Regions from separate parts of the Homo sapiens genome. Here all the other regions are linked to region 3. Evidence: promoter capture Hi-C in 16 types of primary human blood cells and fetal thymus (Javierre and others, 2016). All regions are on one chromosome and are shown on one strand. The core of a region is centred on a gene start or on the middle of the fragment in contact, and the rest is flanking DNA. Distances in the headings are between cores, read along the strand shown. Region 1 holds the start of MTOR (mechanistic target of rapamycin kinase). Region 2 holds the start of C1orf174 (chromosome 1 open reading frame 174). Region 3 holds the start of VAMP3 (vesicle associated membrane protein 3).

The links. The method cuts DNA at HindIII sites, captures the fragments that hold promoters and counts their contacts. A CHiCAGO score of 5 or more calls a contact.
Region 1: a contact is called between the fragment with the promoter of MTOR here and the fragment with the promoter of VAMP3 in region 3, in 2 of 17 cell types (total B cells and fetal thymus). The highest score is 6.9, in total B cells.
Region 2: the fragment with the promoter of C1orf174 here is called in contact with the fragment with the promoter of VAMP3 in region 3 in 1 of 17 cell types (M0 macrophages); the score reaches 6.0 in M0 macrophages.

The regions. Positions count from the first base shown.
Region 1 is chr1:11,261,149-11,264,040 of GRCh38, forward strand. It overlaps MTOR (mechanistic target of rapamycin kinase), which reads right to left and starts at 1,403. Exons shown (of 58, transcript NM_004958.4): 1 at 1,297-1,403. RefSeq lists a silencer at 1,121-1,170 and an enhancer at 1,591-1,750. The HindIII fragment of the contact is 974 bases long and covers 521-1,494 here.
Region 2 is chr1:3,899,012-3,901,711 of GRCh38, forward strand. It overlaps C1orf174 (chromosome 1 open reading frame 174), which reads right to left and starts at 1,261. Exons shown (of 4, transcript NM_207356.3): 1 at 1,161-1,261. The coding sequence starts at 1,175. LINC01134 (long intergenic non-protein coding RNA 1134) reads left to right here and starts at 1,393. Exons shown (of 4, transcript NR_024455.1): 1 at 1,393-1,620. RefSeq lists enhancers at 353-923, 924-1,492, 1,493-2,062, 1,702-1,961 and silencers at 1,012-1,081, 2,162-2,341. The HindIII fragment of the contact is 4,148 bases long and covers 1-2,700 here.
Region 3 is chr1:7,769,832-7,772,809 of GRCh38, forward strand. It overlaps VAMP3 (vesicle associated membrane protein 3), which reads left to right and starts at 1,465. Exons shown (of 5, transcript NM_004781.4): 1 at 1,465-1,554. The coding sequence starts at 1,553. RefSeq lists enhancers at 669-1,365, 1,109-1,158 and silencers at 1,392-1,634, 1,599-1,828. The HindIII fragment of the contact is 4,711 bases long and covers 1-2,978 here.

The sequences.
Region 1 (2,892 bases), core at 153-2,652, 3.5 Mb after region 3:
GAACAACGCAGTTCTACAGGGGACTAGCTCTTCAAATGTAAGCTAAAAGAAAGTAATTAGTTCCTGGCCGGGTTTGGGAGGCCGAGGCGGGCGGATCACGAGGTCAGGAAATCGAGACCATCCTGGCCAACACGGTGAAATCCCGCCTCTACTAAAAATACAAAAAAAAAAAAAAATTAGCCGTATGGTGGCGGGCGCCTGTAGTCCCAGCTACTCGGGAGGCTGAGGCAGGAGAATGGCGGGAACCCGGGAGGCGGAGCTTGCAGTGAGCAGAGATCGAGCCACTGCACTCCAGCCTGGGCGACAGAGCGAAACTCCGTCTCAAAACAAAACAAAAAACACCAATTAGTTCCTGAGCTCATTCCCTCATTCCTCAATTATGCCCACACTGCCATGGGTGTAACATACACCTATCCCAAGTATGTTCAGCTTATGCTACAAAACCAATTTCTCAAAATTCTTATTTTTGAAAGAATTTGTAAGGCACAGAGGAAAAACCTGGGAATAATTGGTTTTGTAAAGCTTTCAAATACTCCACTGCCAAGAAGAAGACTGCAGAAAGAAATGTCATCCTTTAGGGGAGAAGAAACTTAAGAATCCCTGCTAAGAAAACTACTCCAGTTTGTGTGTATGTGTGTGCGTCCGAAAGGGGGGAAGGTGGCTGGCAAGGGATTTCTATTCTCAGGAAAGAACCAGTGTATCTTTATATGATCTGAGGCCCACAGGCCATCTGCTCCAGACTGAATTCAATTAAACTTAGGATATCTGAAGTCAAATATCCTAATGGTGTTGATAGGGCTTAAGGAAGTTAAGATTGGATGGGGGAAACAGGGATGGGGCTGGGGGAGAGGGAGAGAAGATGTACCCCAACGATGTAACCAAGCTCAGTTTCGGGGACTGGATCTCTGAGAGGTGTCCACAGTGGAGGACAAGGGGCTGACACGGACGCTAGTGTTCCCTGGGGCAGAGATACACAATTTTTATACGTGGCTCAAAAGAAAGGGTGGCTGTGACAGGCAAAAGACCCAAAGGGCAATACCAGAGCTGATGGGCCGGCCTTCGGGCGGACGTACCGCGGGCCGAAGGGTCCAGGGGTCTCTTGGGGGTCCCGGGGAGGTGGGCGTTGCCTCGAGGGGTGGGAGTCAAGGCCTCAGACGGTGCCCAGGTCGTGGGGCCGGCAATGTGGGGACCCCACGTCCCAGACGGGCGGCTTCCCCTGGCCCCCCCACGGGCAGGCTGGCCGTGGGTCTGGACATTACGCCGCCCTAGAGGGGTCGTGCCAGGCCCTAGACTCACCGCGCGGCTTCGGCCAAGGCCTCAGCTGCCGCCGCCAGCACCGGTACCGCCGCTTCAGGCCCCCTGCCCCACCGCCCGCCTTCCCCGCTGTCCTCTAAGCCGGGAGCGAGGGAAGGAGGGTTCCCAGCCCTGAGGACCAATCGACAGGTATAGGGAGAAGATGGACTGAAAAACAGGCCAATAGTAATGAAGAAGAGAAGCTTCAGGACCCGGCTTCTCCAGGGGGCGGGGACTGTTCAAATAGACAAACCACGCGGCCAGTGGCAGGTGAAAACAGGCTTGGGTCCACTCGGGAGAACCAATCGGTCGTGAGTTCACCTCAGTCACTTCCACTCACACATCCGGTACGGCGCTGCTAGGATTCCCTTCTGCATCCGGGCTGTGAACTCAAGGAGTCCGGTGTCTGGGTATCTCCGGATCGCAGCGAGAGCGGCTAGCAGAGGTTCGCGACCCCTCCCGGTGTAATTCTGAGAGGAGAATGTGAGCGATGCCGGTGCCCAGGAATTACTGCATCAAAAGACGTTTCGGGCTAGCGCTCTTTATGGATCCTGTGATATCTCTTTTGTTACAATTAATAAGCATTTGAAAATGTTTTTAATTAGATTCTCTAACTTTCCCAAAATTATCCAACTCAGGATCACTCCAGAGAAACCATAGCCAAGTTTTAACCAAAAGAGCTAGTCATAAATAAAAATTTTCAAAGCAACATTATTTTTTAAAAATCCTTTCAAAAAATCAATAGCTGGCCCGGCGCGGTGGCTCACGCCCATAATTCCAGCACTTTGGGAGACCGAGGCAGGCGGATCACCGTAGGTCAGGAGTCGAGACCAGCCTGGTCAACATGGTGAAATTCCCCCACCCGCACCCCCCGTCTCTACTGAAAATACAAAAATTAGCTGGGCATGGTGGCTCACGCCTGTAATCCCAGATACTCGGGAGGCTGAGGCACGAGTATCGCCTGAACCCGGGAGGTGAAGGTTGCATGCACCGAGATCGTGCCACTGCACTCTAGCCTGGGCAACAGAGCAAGCTCCGTCTCAATACATACATACACACACACACACACACACACACACACACACACACACACAACCAAAGAAAATAAATAACTGCTGGTCACGGTGGCCCACGCACTTTGGGAGGCCAAAGCAGGAGGATCGCTTGAGGCCAGGAGTTCCAGACCAGCCTGGGCAACATAGCGAGACGATGTCTCTACAGATTAAAAAAAAAAAAATCAACAGCAAAAGTGGATTTGACTACATTTTTTTTTAATCACAGTGCTATTTGTCATAGTAAACACTGAAAATTCCTAAATATTTCAAAGTAGGAGTCCAATAAAATATGATGCATTCGTTTGGGCGCGGTGGCTCACACCTGTAATCCCAGCACTTTGGGAGGCCGAGGCGGGCGGATCATGAGGTCAGGAGTTTGAGACCAGCTTGACCAACATAGTGAAACCCCGTCTTTACTAAAAATACAAAAAAAAAAAAAAAAAGGTAGGCGTGGTGGCAGGTGCCTGTAATGCCAGCTACTCAGGAGGCTGAGATAGGAAAATCCCTTGAAGCCAGCAGGCGGAGGTTGCAGTGAGCCGAGATC
Region 2 (2,700 bases), core at 11-2,510, 3.9 Mb before region 3:
TACGGTAAAACATAAAGCACTGGAAAAAACCCAAAAAAGTTGTGGAAAAAAAATCATTAAATTAAAATGCTACATTAGGAAATATTCACTTTAATCCACTTAAAGAAGGAACAGGGGAAGAAAAAGACAGACTTGTATAAAGAAAAGAAAAAGTAAAATGGCAAATGTAAACCTAACTACAGTGTATCAATAATATTAAATGTGCATGGGCTAAACAATTCAATCAAAAGGCAGAAACTACCAGACTGCATTTTAAAAAAGATCCAAGTATATGTGCCTACAGGAGACAAGTTTTGGTTCAAAGATAAAAATAGTAAAAGGAGTTGGAATTCACAAGTGGCCACTCCATTTGAACAAACCAGGAGAGCCTCCATGCAGCTCAGAGCCTCCCAAGTGGACCGGGACCCGCGCCGGGTCCACTGTGAAAAGGGTCCTTCGCCTTAACTGTTACACCCACGCAATGAGCACTTGCCCCTTGCCAGACACTGGCACCCCCCTTCAATCCTCACCACCCTCTTGGTGGATCCCTCATCACCCCACTTTTAGCACATTCAGTAGATGGGGCCAAGCTGAGGTCACTTGCTGTGTGACGTCCATTGGAGTGGCAGCAGTTGAGGGGCACAAACTCAGCTCTGCAGCATCTAGCACTACCAGGAGTTGAAACCAGTTCTGGAGAGGGTGCCCCACCTTCCTAGGAAAGTGGCCCGAAACCTCCCTTCAAGGGGGCGTGACCTGGGAGCCCCCTGTTGCCCAGGACGTGAACTGTGAGCTCCACTTCTCCCGAGGGCGTGGACCGGAGCCCCCCTTCTCCCGCGGGCATGGCCTGGGAGCTCCCCTTCTCTCGGGGGTGTGGCCCAGAGGCCCCATTCTGCGGGGGTGGGTAACCTGGGAGCCCCCTTCTCCCGGGGACGTGACCTGTGAGCTCCACTTCTTCCGAGGGCGTGGCCCGGAGCCCCCTTTTCACAGGGGCGTGACCTGGCAGCCCTCCTTCTCCCGGGAGCGTGGCCTGGAGCCCCCCAACTACTGCCGGGGGCGAGGCCCAAGCGGAGGCCGCTCCTAGGCCACAGGCACCCCGTGACCCCGCCCCGGTTCTCCAGACAGCAGGTGACCCAGAGTCCCCGCCCTGCCCGGCGCAGCTGCTGCCGGGACCCAGCCCTCACCTTCCGGCTCCTCATGAGTGTGAGCACCGCAGCCAAGCACCGCGCGCCCCGGCCAACGCGTCCCGGCGGAGCGGCGACCCGGAGTCTGCAGAGCGCGCCGCGGCGGCGTCCGACGTCAGCACAGCCAATCACAGTGCAGCACCCTCGTCATGTGATTCCCCCCCCCCCCCCCCCCGTGTTGGCTCTTTCGTAAGCGGCGGGCGAAGGTCACAGGCCTTGGGCCAGTGGTGGGACACTGGAGCAGGAAGTCGGCCTGTGGCCGGCCATGTTCATGAGGGCGCGTCCCTTGGCACCCCTGTAGCCGCTATGTTTCCCACGCCCGTGGCAGGCCTGAGAGATTATGTTTGCGGGGGGTGCTTTTTTTGTAGCTTCTGTGTTCGCCATATTTGAAAGGGGCAGACGGCCATGTTCGTGAACGGCGCTTCCCTTGGTGCACCTGTGGCCGCCATGTTTGAGCGAGGTGGGCAACTATGTTCTTGAGGGGGGAGCAACCATGTTCTTGAGGGGCTCTTCCCTTGAAGCCTCTTTGGCCACCATGTTTGAGAGGGGCAGACGGCCATGTTTGTAAGGGGCGCTTCTCTTGGTGCGCCTGTGGCCGCTATGTTTGAGAGGGGCAGGCAACCATGTTCGTGAGGGGCGCTTCCCTTGAAGCCTCTTTGGCGCCATGTATGAGAGGGGCGGACGGCCATGTTTGTGAGGGGCTCTTCCTTTGGTGCGCCTGTGGCCGCCATGTTTGAGAGGGGCGGGCGGGACGTCCGTGAGGGGCCCCTCCCCTTGCATCCCCTGGCTAACAGCCTGCAGGAGGGCGGGAAGTGCTTTCTCCAGTGCCGCAGAGCGCTGGTTTCTGAGTGCCGGTTAGCGGCCTTGAGCAGCGCGAGGGACTCCCAGGCCTGCCCGTGCTGCGGTCCCGCTGGGGAGCTTTGCGCGCTTGTCGCAGGCTGTGCTGCCCCGCGACATGCCGCTTTGGGTTGGGGTGGCCCGCCCGGGAAGTGGCCTCAGCTGTCCCCCACGTTGCGGGCGGGAGGGGGCCTTAGTGGAGGCCGTCGGTGGGCCCAGGAGGCCAGGGTCCGGCGTCGGGCTGGGGGCCGGTTTTCGTCCCCCGTTACGTGCAAGGCGGGAAATGACCCCTCCGCCGTCCCGTTACTCTCCGGGGCCAACGTGGACTCGCAGGGGCCACGCCTTTTCCAATGGCCACGCCCCTAGCAGGCCTGGGTGGACCCGCAGCGGCCACGCCTCCTCCAATGGCCGCGCCCTATCAGGTCTGGATGGACACACGGCGGCCACGCCTCCTCCAGCAAACACGCCCCTAGCAGGCCTGGGCTGCTGTGATGCGTCCTCTTTGGCCGCCGCTGAGGGAGGTGTTTGTAAAGCTGAGGACCACTGTTCTGTTGTGGGTTTTTTTGTTTGTTTGTTTGTTTTTTGAGACGGAGTCTCGCTCTGTCACCCAGGCTGGAGTGCAGTGGCGCGATCTCAGCTCACTGCAACCTCCGCCTCATGGGCTCAAGCCATTCTCCTGCCTCAGCCTCCTGAGTAGCTGGGA
Region 3 (2,978 bases), core at 215-2,714:
ATGTTACATTGTTTCAGCTAGGTCCATGAAAGAAAAAATGTCTTCCAGCCACCATTCAGAGAGCTTTTCCCCTATCTTTCCAGGCACCTCTCAACATGTCAATCATTTGTGTAAGGCAGTGCAATTATTTGAAAGATAAAGACATTAATTTAATTCACCTTTTCAGTTACAATCCTCTAAAGTCTTCTAAAAGGCATTTTCCAGCAGATTACGAACGTCGTCCTTTCTGAGTATTGTGTCATCGCCGCTCCCTTCCCGTTCACTGCAGAGCCTCTCCTTATCTCCCTAGTGCTCCCTCTTCCATCTAATCCATCTGGCCACTACTGCCAGAGAAATTTTGCATCATGGATCTCCCACGTCCGTAAGTCAATGGTTTCCAGGGCCCACTACAATTAAATGACATTTTTCTTGTTTGTTTATCCTCTTTATTCAGTCTTCTTTTCACTTGTACCCAACCTGCACCCTCTAGGTGGTCTGTGCACACTGCGTCCATTTTCACTGCTGTCTTTGTTCATGGTGTTTGCCCAACCCTTACTTGGAAAGTTCTTTTCCACTAGTACCCAGCTCAAATCCCACCGCCTTTGTGACACTCGTTTATTCGATATATACTAACGTTTCCCTTTTCAAAGTATTCTATTTAGAGTTGGAAAAAACAGCATAGTATTTAAGTACTGTATTTTTCACTTCTCATCTAAGAGACCCACCAATGACCTATTAGTGTTTTATTTTTTGGTGTAGGTAACTATGTTGGTAGGAATATTTCAGTAACAAATATATACAAGGTAACTCACTGCGTTCAGATTTGTGCTTCCCTCCCTTCGACCAAAACCTGAGGACCTATTCTGTGCTAGGGCCTGAAAATACAGAAATAAAGGAACTACAGCCTTGATGCCAAGGCTCTCGTAAGCAGATTATAATATGATCTGCAGTGACAAATATTTGTGTCACCGATGAAAACATGAGCGGGAACCTCACCCAACACCATGTGACAAATACCCGAAATGGACTTCCTATTTCAACTACTTTAGAGAAACATGGTGCCCTCAGGATCACTAGGTTACTCTGGAACACTCAGCAGAAGCCAGTCATCTGTCTCTAATACTGTTAGAAATGGTCCCGAGCCCAGAATAACATGAATTGCCCCCACCCTCACTTATCCACGCAGTCCCTCGCCAGTGGCTAATGCACCACGTTTACAGACCACGTCCCCAAGCGCCAGCGCGGACGGCGGTGCGGACAGGGAGCTGTATTGACCTGCGTTCTGCGTTTCAGAGCCCGGACCGCCCTGGGACCCCTGTGGCCCTCAAGTTCCCAAGTGACCTCGTCCGGGGAGGGGACGTCTCGCTCTGACCCCGCCCTGGACGCACCCACCCACGACGCCCCCGCCCACTTCCGGCGCGCCCCCTCTTCGCCCCGCCCACTCCCCCGGCTCCGCCTAGTGACGTCTTTGCCCCGCGCCGCGCCGTCCCACCCATCTCCCTGGCCTCCGGTCCCAACTTCGCTTCTCTGCTGACCCTCTCTCGTCGCCGCTGCCGCCGCCGCAGCTGCCAAAATGTGAGTGACGCTACGCGACGCGGGCGGCTTCGGGCCCCGCAGGCGGCAGCTCGCGCTGGGACCGCCATACTGCCCAGTTGCCGCCGGCCGCCACTCGGACGCAGGCCGGGGCTGCGCGGGGATCCCGAGGCCTGGGGGTGGGCGGTGGCCCTTGGGTCGCGGGCTGCAGACGGGCCGGGCGGGTCCCGCGGCCATCGGGCGGACGCGGAAGGGGCAAGGGCGGGGCGGCGAGACGCTTCCCGGAGGAAGTGAGCTGCCCGCCCGCAGCCCGCTCCTCGCCCCTTCCCTTTCTAGTCCCCGACGTCCCTGAGAGGAATGGGGACGACAGCCCTGGTTCGGGAGCGCCCGCTCTCGGCCCGGTGCTGCGCTGGGCCCCAGAAGTTGCGAAAGAAAGGACCTCGGCCCTGTCCTGAGCCCCTGTGGGCCGAAGAGCTCCTTGCCTAGCTAGGGGCATCTGCACTGGAAAGATCACTTAACCGTGGGCCTTCGCTCTCTTAAGCGAAAGCACGTTGCAAACCCCTGCTTCCAGTGGTAAGACTCAGAGAATGCTAATGGTTAAGAATCACAAGGACTCCCTCTTCCACCTCCATTCTGCTCATTGCTCACCGTCGGAGGAAGCCCCGGGTTTCTTCCAGGAGCTGGGGACCCCCCTCGAATGTTCCTGCTGAGGCTGCTGTGCCAATAGATCACAGTGGTTAAGATCTAGAGCCAAGGTACACAGGACCTGATCTAAAAACAAGCTGTCCTGCAGCCAGCTGTGTTGACTCTCTAAACCTCACTTTACTCATTTGTAAAATAGGAGTAATATTCCCCTCAGAGAGTTATGAGGGTTAAAGGAGGAAAAGCATGGAAAGAGTCTAGCGCCACGGCATGGTCCTTACTTATCTACCAGATACTAAACTCCGTGAGGACGGTGATGAGATCTGTTGTAGCCCTGGTCATTGACACATGACAGATGTAAAGTGACTGTTCAAACAGCCCATCAGACTGTTGTATACCAAGGCACATGCTAGGTGCTATCTAGGATACAGAGAAGAGAGTAAGAAGACCCAGGAACCTGTGATCTATTCGAGGAGGCGGGACTTTATACCTGAAAAACCAAAGTGATACTTTCCAAGTAATGGAGCCAATAATGACTTCAGAGTCAGAGTGGTTAAGAAAGATCTGCATGGGGAGAAATAAAGCCTTTGATGAAGATTTTAAAAGATGAGTACCTTCCTGGGCCGGGCGCGGTGGCTCATGCCTGTAATCCCAGCACTTTGGGAGGCCGAGGTGGACGGATCACTTGAGGTCAGGAGTTCGAGACCAGCTTGACCAACATGGTGAAACCCCGTCTCTACTAAAAAATACAAAATTAGCCGGGCGTGGTGGCACATGCCTGTAATCCCAGCTGCTTGGGAGACTGAGGCAAGAGAATTGCTTGG